5 separate regions of the Homo sapiens genome follow, and all the other regions are linked to region 1. Evidence: promoter capture Hi-C in 16 types of primary human blood cells and fetal thymus (Javierre and others, 2016). All regions are on one chromosome and are shown on one strand. Each heading gives the region's core, a stretch centred on a gene start or on the middle of the fragment in contact. The rest is flanking DNA. Distances are from core to core; before and after follow the strand shown.

Region 1 (2,795 bases), core at 184-2,683:
AATGCTGACCACATATGCAAAGCCAAAGTAAAGATATCTGCATTGCTAGAATGAAAAGTTTCAAGGGGGGACTAAAAAGAGATGAAGCTGGAAGAGGTGCATAGGGGCCAGGTTGTTAACAGCTGTGGTGCTATCTTTTCTTTTTTCTTCTTTTTTCTTTCTTTCTTTCTTTTTTTTTTTTTTTTTTTTTTTGAGACTGGCTCTGTCTAACAGGCTGGAGTGGCGCAATCTCGGATCACTGCAACTTCCGCCTCCTGGGTTCAAACGATTCTCCTGCCTCAGCCTCATGAGTAGCCGGGACTACAGGCGCACATCATCACGCCCGGCTAATTTTTTTTTGTATTTTTTTAGTAGAGACGGGGTTTCACCATGTTGGCCAGGCTGGTCTTGAACTCCCGACCTCAAGTGATCAGCCCGCCTCGGCTGCCCAAAGTGCTGGGATTACAGGCGTGAGCCACCGCGCCTGGCCTGTCATGCTATCTTTTCAGGAAATAAAAGAAAAAAAAATCTTGAACACCTATGCTAGGTGCTAGGAGATAAAACAAGGAACGCAGACCTGCTCCCTGTGTCTTGAAACTTAAAATCTTGCACGGATGGAAGAATGAGATGGAGAAAAAAGAAAACCTAAAACACGTGAACTAATAAAAAAATTAAACATTGTATTAACTGTAGGAAGAAAACAAACCAGTTACCCAGATTAATTACGCTTTGGGAACAAATGCGGTTCACAGGAGTGCCAAAGATTTAACTGTAACCTGTTACGAGAACTGAGTACTGGACATTTTCAGATCAGTAATGGCACATTATATATACGTAGATGTTAACTTTTACCAAAGCGCAAAAAAGCAATCAAGGAGTACCCACTGCCTCCTCGCATCGATAGAAAAAGCCCATCTGCAAGTGAAGTGCCAAGCCACCACGAGCCCGTTAGCTTTTACGCATGTACAGTGAGTCATCTTGAAGTAAACGGGAATGCCATGTTTATCTTCCTCTCAACCAGCTTCCAGAACGACTTTTAGCTCAGTTGTACAACAGACAGCCTTACCTTTTAGTCTTTCAACAAACTTATCTCATTTAAGGTACCTATACCCACACAAAAACACTTTCCGCCCTCCACATCCCGCTCTTAAGGCTCCAGCTACCTTTAATATGGCGGAGGCCGAGCCTGCGCATTAGAAGCAGAGAAGGCAAATACCAGTTTCTGGAATAACGTTACATGCCCTTCTTCCGGTGCGGAAGACTATACCACTCCCATACCCTATAACTTTGTTTGTTCTATTTCACACATATAATTTTCCGAGACAAGATGTTCTCATTTAAGCAACAAGAAGATTCGTCTCTCGCTATTACTGTAACTGCTGTTTATATCGTCATGTCCCGGAAAGGTCCCTGTCTTCCCTGAATGGTCTCTACCAACTTCACCTCCGGTTCTAGGTGTCATGGCTGCCCCAAGAGTCTAGGTAAGAGTTTGTTCCCGTGGTGCGGAGGGTCAAGGCCCACACCCGGAAACCTAGCGAGGTAAAGTTGCGTCTTGGTTGTAGAGACGACAACTTCTCCGCTTCCTCGGCGATGGCGGCGTCCGGGAGCGGTATGGCCCAGAAAACCTGGGAACTGGCCAACAACATGCAGGAAGCTCAGAGTATCGATGAAATCTACAAATACGACAAGAAACAGCAGCAAGAAATCCTGGCGGCGAAGCCCTGGACTAAGGAGTGAGGAGGTCCCTGGCGAGACGCAGGGGAGGGAAAGGGTGGCGGAGTTTAAGAGACCCAGAGGGAGAGGGAGGTGAAAGGGGTGAAGAGCTTTCACCGACTGGGAGGGGGACAGAATATGCGTCTTGGATCTGCAAGTAGAGCCTAAGCCCTCCGCTGGGGCTTTCACTCCCCTTTCTGTCGCTTTAATCCATTTGCCCCCGGGTGATGTAAGGGGAGAACAACAAGCGGTGATTTAAGTTGTCACTTCTGAACATCCGTATTGTCATATATGCCACACACCCTACCTTGAGCCCAGTGTCGACATGCACCTTGTTTGGGTCTTCAACTAATCCCAAACTGGGGATTGCAGCTGTTTTCAGAAATCGAGTCAGCAGCCCAAGGTCTCAAAAATAGCTATGAGCTATTTTCTTTTCTTTTTTTTTTAATAGAAATGGGTCCTCGCTGTGTTGCTCAGGCTGATCTCGAGCTTCTGCCTTCAAGCGATCCTCCCGCCTTCGCCTTCCAAAGTGCTGGGATTACAGGCGTGAGGCCTGGGCCTATAATAGTTTTTTGATTGCTGGTAATTATTTCGGAGGCACACGGAGGCTCTACTACCTGGTCTCTAAAATGTTACTCCACCAGTTCCCATAAGCCAGAAATTATAAAAATAGAGCTTAAGACCTTTTGCCCTTCAACAATATCCATTTTTCCCTGGGAGTGGTGACAAGTCGAGGGATCTTTACCCATAATATTTATCTTTTCCTGAGAGCATCTCCTGAGAGATTTCCTGCTATCAGGAAAAGATAATTATTACGGGTTATGTTTGAGAGTAAAAAGAGCACGAAAGCTAATGGTTAGATAGAAAGGAAAGCTGTGGTCAACAAGAGGACATACTTCTACTGCCTCACAGTTTTTTTTACAAGGCTAGCCTTGTCTCTCAGTATTCAGATTCCACAATGGTGAACTGCGGAAGCACCTAGCTAGAGATTTCCACGTCATTTAATTTTCATGACAACCCAGTACAGTATATCCATCCTTTTGTTACAAATTAAAAAACAAGCAAATACGTTATGTAATTTATGATCATACTGACATAAGTGA
Region 2 (2,795 bases), core at 200-2,699, 950 kb after region 1:
AAAAGTAACATACTGGTCATGGCTAAAGATCAGCTATGAAGATATAGAAGATAGAATGGAAAATATATCCCAGGACATCAGACCATGGAAAGCAAAAAATAAAAACATGACACTGGGTACAGTGGCTCACCCCTGTCATTCCAGTACTTTGGGAGGCCAGGGCGGGAGGATTGCTTGAAGCTAAGAGTTTGGGACCAGCCTGGGCAACAAAGCAAGACCCCCATCTCTACAAAAGATACGAAAATTAGCTAGACATGGTGGTGTTTACCTGTAGTCCCAGCTACTTGGGAGGCTGAGGCAGAAGGATCTCTTGAGCCCAGGAGTTCAAAGCTGCTGCGGGCTATGATTGATTGCACCATTGCACTCCAGCTCCTGGGACAGAGTGAGATCTGGTTATACACACACACACACACACACACACACACACACACACACACCAAAAAAAAGATAGAAAAGAAAAAAAAAAGAAAAGATAGATCCTGAAGACATAAAGAGTATCTAATATGAGCTCCAGAAAGAGAAAACAGAGACAATGCAGGGGTAAGAATAAAAGAAAGACATTGGTCATCAGATGGAAAGGATCATGCAAGTTAGGATGAATGAAAAATAACCATGCCTGGACACAGCCTAGTGACATTCAAAAGCATTGAGGATAAAGATGAAACCCTGTAACTTTCAGAGATGGAGGAAAACAAAGCAAAATCTAAACAAGAACTAGGCTAGCTACAAAGGAATAAGAATTGGATTATGATCAGACTTCTCATCATCATTACTGGATGCTAGAAGACAGTTGAGCATGGCCTTCAAAGCTCTGCAAAGAAATAATTTTAAGCCTAGAATTGTATGCCAATCAAAGTAGCAATCACATATGAGGACTAATAGTTCATAGTTGCAAGGTCTCATAAAGTTTAAATCTATGATTCCTCTCTGAAACAAATAAAAAGTAAGTAAACATTATTTGAGGATGTTGTACTGGATGGGTTCTCCAGTAAGCTGAAGCTCATGCAGAATTAGAGCACAACATTTTACAGGGGAGTAACATCTGTGAATGGAAAAGGGGAGGACACAGGATTGGGTAGGGGTAGTCATTAGACAGTGATGCAGACCCGACAAAGTTTCTGCCAACCCTCTTGGTGGCTCCAGAGCAAAGATTTCCTTTTGGAGGAGTCTCAAGTTGGGCAGAAATGGTGGGGCCCTAGCATCACCACCTTGCTCAGTCATTGGCCAGAGGCTTAGAACCTTGGCTAGAGGAGTTAACACCTGATGGCTACTAGTTAACCATCCTCCTTGCAGCTGGGCAGTGAGTTCTTTCTTGAAAGGCAGTCTAGCAGCATGTCTCTGTGTATGCCATGGATGTACTTCAGCAAAGCAAAGTAAGAATCCAAGAAGGAGGAGTACACAGGATTTAAGAAAAAAGGAAACCAACCCAGGGACTCAATGAAAAGAAAATCTCAGGTTGACAGTGATGCAGCTGGCAAAGAAAGCAATCAGGACAAATTAAGGGGAGGAAAAAAAAGTTAGAGGGCTCTGGGAAGTTTATTTTTCAAAAAGAAGCGGATTCTTTTACAATAGTAGTGTGATTAAGGATCTGGGAGACCTTAGAGATATGATAAAGGCACATGTCACTTTTCTCAAAAAGACAGAACGAAGATACTCAGGGATTTCTAAAAAAAACAAAAAAACAAAAAAAAACTTTATAAAAAATACGTGGTTCAAATATAAAGCAAACTGAAATATGGCACAATTTTGAGAAATTGATGGCATGCTTGTTGTTGGGCTGAATTGTGTTCTGTCTTCCCTCCCCACCCCAATTTATTTGTTGAAGACCTAACCCCTAGTACTTCAGAATGTGACTGTATTTGGAGATAAGGCCTTTAAAGAGGTAATTAAGCAAAAATGAGGTCATTAGGGTGCACCCTGATCCAATACAACTGGTGTCCTTATAAGGAGAACAGAATACAGAGACAGCAGGCACATGCATGCATAGAGAGAAGGCTACAGGAAGACGCAGGGAGAAGACGGCCATCTACAAGCCACGGAGAGAGGTCTCAGAAGAAACCAAACCTGCCAATACCTTGAGCTTAGACTTCTAGCCTCTAGAAGTGTGAGAAAACAAATTTATCTTTTTAAAAGCCACCCAGTCTGTGATATTTTGTTATGATAGCCCTAACAAACTATATGGGGATGGTGAAGAAATTTGCTTTTGTTTCTGCATTTTTTGACATCATTACATTTTTGTTTAACCATATGTAAGTTATTTTACATAACACGTATGGGTCAGAGTGTCCCATAATTGTCATCTAATTATAGATATTCTGTAATAAAAATTGCTTAAGAATGAAGAAACTGAGGCCCAAATATGTGAAATGACTTATCCAAGGTAACAGAGGGGAGAAGTGGCATATGAGATCTTAGGCCTCCTGAATCACAGCCAGGGCTTTCTGTAGCACTGCTTGGTCTCTCTGTCCTCAGATGGACACTTGGGTTAGGGATATTGGGCTGGCAGCTGCTACTCTGGGAGGAAGGAGGTTGAAAGGCAGGTTCTGATGCCAGTACGGTCAGAAAATGGACATTCTGGGAGTAGAAAAGCGTTTCATCTATTAAAGGTTATTCTCTTCTCACCTCTAAATCCAAAGGTGAAATCCCTTAAATTTGTTAACAGCAGTGCTCCAAGGAGGTGTGTCAAGACTCCGTGAAATGTGAAAAAAAAAAGCCATTGTTTATTTGAAAAATTATTCCTTAGACATATGTGCACTAAAGAGCTTTCAAGTTTTTCCTTTCAGTCAAGGAAACCA
Region 3 (2,795 bases), core at 86-2,585, 650 kb after region 1:
TAGAACATGTATTATGGTCTCCATCTGTTAGCTCTATTATCTAAACACTCCGAAGGCCTAATACTGCTTTTGTTGTGTATGTTGATTGATTTTCCATGTGTTTGGTAATTTTGAGTTATGCACTTGTTTTTGGCAAGGCTTTATCTGTGGGAATCCTGTGTAATCTGGATTAAGGGCATGTCCTCTCAGAGAAGTTTTGAATTTGCTTCATTGTTAGCTGGAAACCTTTTTTAAAAATTAATAACTTGGTTTAGGGGCTCCTAGATCATTTGGGTTATGTAAATCTAAACCCCAAACCCACATAAGAAGGAGCCCATAGCAAAATTGAGTTAAAATATTTTCAAAATTAGTTTTTATGGGTTATGTGAGATATTTTGATACAGGCATGCAATGCGTAGTAATCACATCAGGGTAAATGGGGTATCCATCATTTCAAGCGCAGGTAAAATATTTTTTTCACACCCGATCCAGGTTATGCCATTCAAGCTTCTTTATTATAATTTACTTCCATTACTGGTTGGATTTTTACTTTTTTTAGTTTACCCTTTCATCTAGGCCTATTTGGGGATGTTGTTTCTAATTTCCCACCTCATGTGGCCCGAGGTCTTTTCCCATGAGCAGTTAAATCCAAATCGCTAGGTGTTGGAGATCAGCACCCATCCTTTCCACCCTCCCAGGGCTGCTGTAACATTCTCTCTAGTTTCTAGTTCTTTCTTTGCTTTTGGTCTCTGAAACTATCTTTTCCTTTCATGAAAGCTCAACTATGAATTCAAAATTATGTTTGTCCTATTTCTTGCAACATTTTTGACATTTGCCATTGCACTCCAGCCTGGGCAACAGAGCAAGACCCCATCTCTAAAATAATAATAATAATAATAATAATAATAATAATAATTTTTAAAACCCAAACAAAATAAAAAAAAAAAGAAGAGGAACTTTGAACGTGGACACTTAAGAAGGAAGATGATGTGAAGACATAGAGAAGACAAACAACCATCTATAAGTCAAGGAATGAGGCCTGGAGCAAATCCTTCCTTCATGGTCCTTATAAGGAACAAACCCTGCTGACAGTTTGATTTTGGACTTCTAGACTCTAGAATATGAGAAAGTTCCTTTCCTTCCTTCCTTCCTTCCTTCCTTCCTTCCTTCCTTCCTTCCTTCCTTCCTTCCTTCTTTCCTTCCTTCCTTCCTTTTTTTGAGACTGAGTCTTATTCTGTCACCCAGGCTGGAGTGCAATGGTGCAATTTTGGCTTACTGCAACCTTCGCCTCCTGAGTTCAAGTGATTCTCCTGCCTCAGCCTCCCGAATAACTGGGATTACAGGCGCGTGCCACCATGCGCAGCTAATTTTTGTATTTTTAGTAGAGATGGGGTTTCATCATGTTGGTCAGGCTGGCCTCGAACTCCTGACCTCAAGTCATCTGCCCGCCTCAGCCTCCTGAAGTGTGGGATTACAGGCGTGAGCCACCATGCCTGGCCTAATTTCTATTGTTTAAGCCACTCAGTTTGTGTTACTTTGTTAGGGCAGCCCTAGCAAACTACTACACTGACCAACATATTGGTCATTTTTCTCATTTGTAAACTGAAGAAAAATTGCAATATCTTCTTCATCCTATTGTGAGGATTAAATATGATAATGTATGCACCATGTCTGGCACATAGAAAGTATTTGTTACATGTTAGCTTTTATTACTAGTATTGAACTTGGTATTGAATGTGGTTGTTACATCCTTTAAATAGCAGATTGGTTTATCTGCTATTTTACTATTTTGTAGGTGTCTTCAGGCATTCACATTTCCTTCATTTTGAGTTATCAAAATCTCAGCTTAATAGAACTGGAGTTTTAAAATTTATGGTTCAAACTATTCTCTAAAAATATCTCATATGCAAATGATCCCAACCAGATTGTGATATTCGAAAATAGTCAAAAGACCATTAGCTTAACTCCATGGAAGTCCATATAAAGACAAATACCTAAAATAGAATGTGAATTATTGTTGAAGTATTTCAGAAGGAACTTAAAAGAGGTAAAGGTGGTTGTAGATGACTTGAATAAAATACATTAGTAAACTACATATCCCATAAAATATACTACATTCTTATTTAGGAAAAATATTAAAACTGCTTAGCCAAATAACCTTTTAAAGATAAAAAGACTTCTCCATTTACTTTGCCCAAAGCTTCCTTTGCAATAGCTGATAATGTCACAGACCTCTTAGTGCGAAGATAGGAAAATAGCAGAAAACCTAGGGGAAGAGTACTTTAGAATAAAGTGCTAAAGGATCAGTGGGAAGGATTGGCATCTCTAGAAATGGATGCTTTAGGGAAGAATCATATGCACTTTCCCCCAGTTTACTCTAATTGTGCAAGGCATCCTTCATTAGAGAGTGACTTAGACTTTAATCATGAATGTTGAAGGTTGGCCTAGAAGAATCTTTCCTGATAGTGGGATATAATTATGCTTGTAACAAAACAAGAATGGATTCTAATTCTGAGTCTAATTAATTTGCTAATTCCAGGCATTGTCAGAAAAGTGATGCAAACTGTAAACTTTCTGTTAGGTAATAATGCTAACTTGTTTCCCACACAGCATCATTGAAAAGGCTATCAGTTGGGGTTCTGAGTCGTTTATATCGAAGAGCCAGCCTCTTAGTCTGGAGTTTTCCACTCTCCAATTTGAGGAAGAGAGGAGAGTAGAAAAGAGATGTTAATGGGGATGGTACATGTGAAACGTTGGAAGATTTGGAAGCAATCCTAGATTATATTTAAAAAGCAATCTAGCTTTTTTCTTTAGAA
Region 4 (2,795 bases), core at 188-2,687, 620 kb after region 1:
GCACGATCTCCGCTCACTGCAACCTATGTCTCTTGGGTTCAAGCGATTCTCCCACCTCAGCTTCCCAAGTAGCTGGGATTACAGGTGCCTGCCACCATGACTGGCTAATTTTTGTATTTTTAGTAGAGACAGTGTTTCACCATGTTGGCCATACTGGTCTCGAACTCCTGACCTCAAGCAATCTGCCTGCCTCAGCCTCCCAAAGTGCTGGGATTACAGGCGTGAGCCACCACGCCTGGTTGGGGGCAAGTTTTAATCAACAGTTAGCTTCTGCTTAAAGTAAAGAAACAATAACAACAATACAAGAATACCTTGAATCCGTTGGTTCCACTCTCACATTATCATAAACCGTAAAGGGGATGCCATTCTTCACTAGGGAATCCATAGCTACTTGCACAGGAGGGAGCTTGGAGAGGTTCTTGTCTGTCATCAAGCACACATTTTTAGCACCCATGTTTTTTAGGTCCTACAAGAAAACCTATAAGTTAGGTTCAACTCCACTAGAACTGCAATAGACTCTTCTGGCAAACTCACGTTGTACATTTTTAAAAATAGAGGATGTGATTGTTGTCATTTAGCATGGTCTTGTGAGATATGTAACATTTACAGTAGGAGACCGTAGACATCTCGAATACTTGCCATTCCTACTTCCTTTGTAACTGCTGCTCCATATCTAATATTTGAAACAGCCATCTGAAAAAAATAAAAAGGTTTAGGTGTAGGGAGTATTTGAGAGTTGGCCAGTCCATTTCTAAAAACCTGAAATGGTTTCTTGTTGCCTAGAGCATAAAGTATACACTCCTTAGCATGGTCTTCCAGGTCATCTCCCACCTGGTCTCACTTAAAGAAGTGTGGACGCACCACACTTCCTTAAGCAAACTTCAGCTCCTGTCATTTGAATGACTTGTCTTTTCCCAAACACATCATAAACTCTCAACTGTTCCCTTAGCTTCAAATGCCTACCTTCTTCCAACTCCACCTGTAAAATAACTCTCAAATGTCTTACTTTCCATTCATCCACCCACCCTTGCATACCTGCCACCCAGTCAATGCTACTGTCTTCTATGTTCGAGGCACTGTGTAGGCTCTGGTAACTCAACTATGAATAAGAGACACAGGGCCTCATAAAGTTTACGGGTGAGAGAAAGGCTTTTACACTGATGGATGATGGGTCATGTTTCGCCTGAAATATATTTTATTTGATCTGTGTTATGTTTAAATTTCTTTTTTTTTTTGAATTGACTAATAATGCTTAAAAATCAGGATAAAAAATTTAATAAGACCATCTGAATTTCACTTTCTCTTGAATAATCCAGCAAACTGGGAATGCATTCCCATATGGCAGTGATCTTATAAGGTTGAGTGGAGTCACACCTTAGATGGGGCCTGTGCCTTCAGTGAGCTCACCATGGCATCACCCAGCCTGGTCATCTCTTGGTTAACTGTCAGGCCCCCGGTGACATTTTAATTAGTCATTCCTGAAGGCAGGCGCGGTGGCTTATGCCTGTAATCCTGGCACTTTGGGAGGCCGAGGTGGTCAGATCACCTGAGGTCAGGAGTTCGAGACCAGCCTGGCCAACATGGCAAAACCCTGTCTCTACTAAAAATACAAAAATTAGCTGGGTGTGGTGGTGTGCACCTGTAATCCCAGCTACTCAGAAGGCTGAGGCAGGAGAATCGCTTGAACTCAGGAGGCGGAGGTTGTAGTGAGCTGAGATCACACCACTGCACTCCAGTCTGGGTGACAGAGTGAGGCTGTCTCCAAAAAAAAAAAAAAAAAAAAAAAAAAAAAAAATTCCTGGACTAGGAGGAGACAGGGACTTAAACAAATAATTATAAGTAATTATGTAATTACAGTGTGATAAAAATACACCAGAATTGTTACTTTACTTTGACCTCTTTTGGGATTGTTATAATTAAAAAACTAAAGATTTAACACATAACATATATGTACTGGAGAATTTGTAGAATTGGGAATTTATCCTATTTTAGTGACTCTACAAAGACAGCACTCTAGACATTAGCCATGATCTCAGAAGGTTTATATTCCATTATACCAACCAGGTACTTTGCTAAATATGGTCTGATCAAATAGAGATTATGGAATGTGAATTAATAACAGATTTAAAATAAAATAATAATTCATTAGCAAAATATTCTAGTTTTATTTTTTTCTAGTCATTCATAAAAGAAATAATGGATTGAGTGAATATACCTCAAAGGCATAATCTGTTGTTTTCCCAGAAGGTGAAAGTCCAGGGGCTAGAAATGTAAAAGTTAGCATCAAAGTGGGTCTTTAAAAAAAAGCATAAATGTTATTTGATAGTAAAATCCAGCAGTGAACATAAGTATTTCCTTTGAAGTCTTACCAAAAATATATTTTTTCCAGGTTTCACTGTTGCACATCAAATTAAAATCAATACCTGTATTTTAAGATAGAATGTAATGCGGCCAAGCACAGTGGCTCACACCTGTAATCCCAGCACTTTGGGAGGCTGAGGCGGGTGGATCACGAGGTCAGGAGATCGAGATCATCCTGGCTAACATGGTAGAACCCTGTCTCTACTAAAAATACAAAAAAATTAGCCAGGTGTGGTGGCGAGCGCCTGTAGTCCGAGCTACTCGGGAGGCTGAGGCAGGAGAATGGTGTGAACCTGGGAGGTGGAGCTTGCAGTGAGCCGAGATCGCGCCACTGCACTCCAGCCTGGACAACAGAGTGAGACCCCGTCTCAAAAAAAAAAAAAAAAAAAGATAGAATGTAATGCTAACTTGAGCCTAATTTGTGAAAATAATAA
Region 5 (2,795 bases), core at 112-2,611, 600 kb after region 1:
GAATTAAGATATGTTAAGCAATGATGTGCTATTATTTATAGGCATGTAAGAGTGAAGGACAACTCATTAACATGGGAACGAAATAAATTCAGACATCTACTTTTAGCACGTTCATGAAATAACAACATTTCAGCTGGCCTGTCTACCAGGGAGTGGAAGTGCTCATTTGGGTAGACAGCGCTCCTCAGTAATGAAATGTTTTGATTTGAAATGTAAATGTTTCTTTCCAGGGGTTTTAGAAATCCAGCTTGGAAGATTAATATATTCTTGCCTGCTCCCCTTGCAGCCTGGCTATGGCAGTTGAAAGCCTCTGTACACAGGGCTGCTATTAGCTGCCACCAGTATGGGCTGTGTTTGGTCAAGAATACTGGCCTGGTTGTTTCTTCCAGAGAAAACCAATCCTTCACTGCTGAACAGAAAAGAACCTTCATCAAATGTCAACTACATTGAATAACCTTTCTGGTGACGTTCTTTGGAGGAGCCAGTATATTCTTCTCACTACCTTAAATCCTGGAGATACTAATAAGCGAAGATTAGTCTATTGCATGTGTAAAACTCTGAAGTGGCCACAGCATTCCTGTAAAACAGTCACTGCCATCAAACAAACAAACAAAATTCCATAGTAGTTATTCATCTGCAAAATGGACAAGCTTATTTCTAAGATTCCTACCAAAGTCCTATCGATCTGTGAATATACACATATCTCAATCACGTAGACTCCAAATGAACCTAGGGCTAGTTTAATTAAAATTAACTATATTTCTCTGAATCATGAAAACATGATCAGAGGAAAAAAGGCAGCAGATGCCTTGGGGTGTTTTATGAATACAGCCTGAGGAAAATCTGGCTTCCTACTTTAAGACAGAACTTATATCCAAAAGATTCCATTTACCTCCCATTTTTGTAAAACTAAGAAATTGGTTTTGTCCAATTAAGATTTTGCTATCTGTGATTTCCCAGTATTGCATGTGCACTGAGGCATTCAGAATGATACCTAATTAAGTTGCTATTTTAGTGTTAATTTAGTGCTATTTTAGTGGTCTCAAATGTTAAGCTGGATCTGCTGCTACGTGGAATAGCTTTTGAAAGTGACAGTCTGGGCCAGTTGTGGTGGCTCACGCCTGTAATCCCAGCACTTTGGGAGGCTGAGGTGGGCGGATCACCTGAGGTCAGGAGTTTGAGACCAGCCTGGCCAACATGGTGAAACCTCGTCTCTAGTAAAAATACAAAAATTAGCTGGGCATGGTGGTGTGTGCCTGTAATACCAGCTACTCGGGAGGCTGAGGCAGGAGAATCACTTGAACCCGGCAGGCAGAGGTTGCAGTGAGCCAAGATTGCACCACTGCCCTCCAGCCTGGGCAATGAGAGTGAAACTCTGTCTCAAAAACAAAAAACAAAACAAACAAAAGAAAGTGACAGTCTGACCACAGTAGAATTAGAAGAGTAAACACCTGTCAGTGTGTACTGATGGTCAGCAATCAAATCGCCAAGGGTATCAGACAGTTTCATCTGAAAATCATGGATACCATTCTTAGAGATGGACCCACACATTTTCCTGAACACTTTCCTGGGCTAAACAAACAGAACCTTTTGGAAGGCCCCTTGCAGGGTGGACAGTGTCACTGGGACCATGCCATAAAGCCAGAAGCTACATTAAAATTGCAGTGAATGCCAGGCACTGTGGCTCATATCTATAACCCTAGGACTTTGGGAAGCCAAGGCAGGAGGATTGCTTGAGCTCAGGAATTCAAGACCAGCCTGGGTAACACAGTGAGACCTATTGTGTACAAAAAAGTTAAAAAAATTAGCCTGGTATGGTGGCACACACCTATAGTGCTGGCTACTCGGGAGGCTGAGGACAGAGGATCACTTGAGCCTGGGAGGTCAAGGCTGTGGTGAGCTGTGATTATGCCACTGCACTCCAGCCCTGTCCCTCCCTCCGGAAAAAATCACTATGACCACTCAGTCTACGGTGTCCCTGAGCTTTCATGGCTCCCCTGTCTTTGGTTGAGTCCTAGTCAGTCTAAGGAAACTTTTCAAAAAGTTATCCTCAGTCAGCCATTAAAGCTTACCTAGACAGAGGACTTAGGAGGAGAGGAATGGAGGTATGTGTTCGTTTAACATGTTTACTAGCCTGTGCTAGGTGCAATGGAAAATGGATGAGCCAAGCAGACAGATTCCTGCCCTCACAGGACTTACAGGCTGGTAGGCTTGGATAAAATAACTGTGAGGGCGTTAGAGAGTGTGATTTTTTTAGTGATTTGGTCCCTTGGACGTATGGGTTAGAATTAAGGGTTTGTGGGTTAGCCCAGGGTCTCTCCTATACTTTGAGACTCCTTTGTTTCTTGTTCATTTCTATTTGTAGATGCAATTGAATTCACTGAGCCTGAATCCAAATCAGGGAAACTGGTGGTTCACGGACTACATTTCATTTGTGCATTGGAAACCAGGGAATTCAACACAAACATCCGGATTGCTGATTTTTCTTGAGAGTTGGTAGTTCTACCAACACTGGGACCTGATCTTCTGCTTGGTGATGATAAACTGCAGCTGAGCTGCTCACCCAGTTAGATGGGTCACGTGCTTTCTGGCTTACCAAAGTCCCCACCACTCCCTAAGGCCTTACATGACATTGTTCACTGCTATTCTCTACCTGGCTCCTGTGGACACATGAGTCTATGAACACAATCTATATAAATATTATCTTAAGTGAGTGGTGAGGCTGTCAACATTCTAAGCACTAGCGAAGTGGGGAGGAAGAAGCTAGTTTGAGGCCCTTGCCTACTTGGAGTGGG

Evidence for each region. Contacts are between HindIII fragments. The CHiCAGO score rates a contact against its expected background, and 5 or more counts as called.
Region 2: a fragment that was not itself captured here is called in contact with the fragment with the promoter of COPS5 in region 1 in 3 of 17 cell types (naive CD4 T cells, total B cells and total CD8 T cells); the score reaches 6.5 in naive CD4 T cells.
Region 3: a fragment that was not itself captured here is called in contact with the fragment with the promoter of COPS5 in region 1 in 1 of 17 cell types (non-activated CD4 T cells); the score reaches 5.5 in non-activated CD4 T cells.
Region 4: a contact is called between a fragment that was not itself captured here and the fragment with the promoter of COPS5 in region 1, in 4 of 17 cell types (total CD8 T cells, naive B cells, activated CD4 T cells and 1 more). The highest score is 8.1, in total CD8 T cells.
Region 5: a contact is called between a fragment that was not itself captured here and the fragment with the promoter of COPS5 in region 1, in 4 of 17 cell types (naive CD8 T cells, total B cells, endothelial precursors and 1 more). The highest score is 6.5, in naive CD8 T cells.

What each region holds. Positions count from the first base shown.
Region 1 is chr8:67,060,771-67,063,565 of GRCh38, reverse strand. COPS5 (COP9 signalosome subunit 5) reads left to right here and starts at 1,433. Exons shown (of 8, transcript NM_006837.3): 1 at 1,433-1,712. The coding sequence starts at 1,570. RefSeq lists enhancers at 1,227-1,496, 1,677-1,766. The HindIII fragment of the contact is 5,475 bases long and covers 1-2,795 here.
Region 2 is chr8:66,107,566-66,110,360 of GRCh38, reverse strand. No RefSeq gene overlaps it. Among named protein-coding and RNA genes, the nearest start is that of TRY-GTA5-1, 4.4 kb to the left of the region's middle. The HindIII fragment of the contact is 6,679 bases long and covers 1-2,795 here.
Region 3 is chr8:66,414,542-66,417,336 of GRCh38, reverse strand. The region is part of intron 1 of LOC102724687 (a long non-coding RNA gene); the gene reads left to right. Among named protein-coding and RNA genes, the nearest start is that of RRS1-DT, 13 kb to the left of the region's middle. The HindIII fragment of the contact is 1,693 bases long and covers 489-2,181 here.
Region 4 is chr8:66,442,265-66,445,059 of GRCh38, reverse strand. It overlaps ADHFE1 (alcohol dehydrogenase iron containing 1), which reads right to left. Exons shown (of 14, transcript NM_144650.3): 3 at 2,216-2,262; 4 at 640-693; 5 at 312-466. Among named protein-coding and RNA genes, the nearest start is that of ADHFE1, 11 kb to the right of the region's middle. The HindIII fragment of the contact is 3,186 bases long and covers 1-2,795 here.
Region 5 is chr8:66,461,426-66,464,220 of GRCh38, reverse strand. All of the region lies in intron 13 of ADHFE1 (alcohol dehydrogenase iron containing 1), which reads right to left. Among named protein-coding and RNA genes, the nearest start is that of ADHFE1, 30 kb to the right of the region's middle. The HindIII fragment of the contact is 1,417 bases long and covers 653-2,069 here.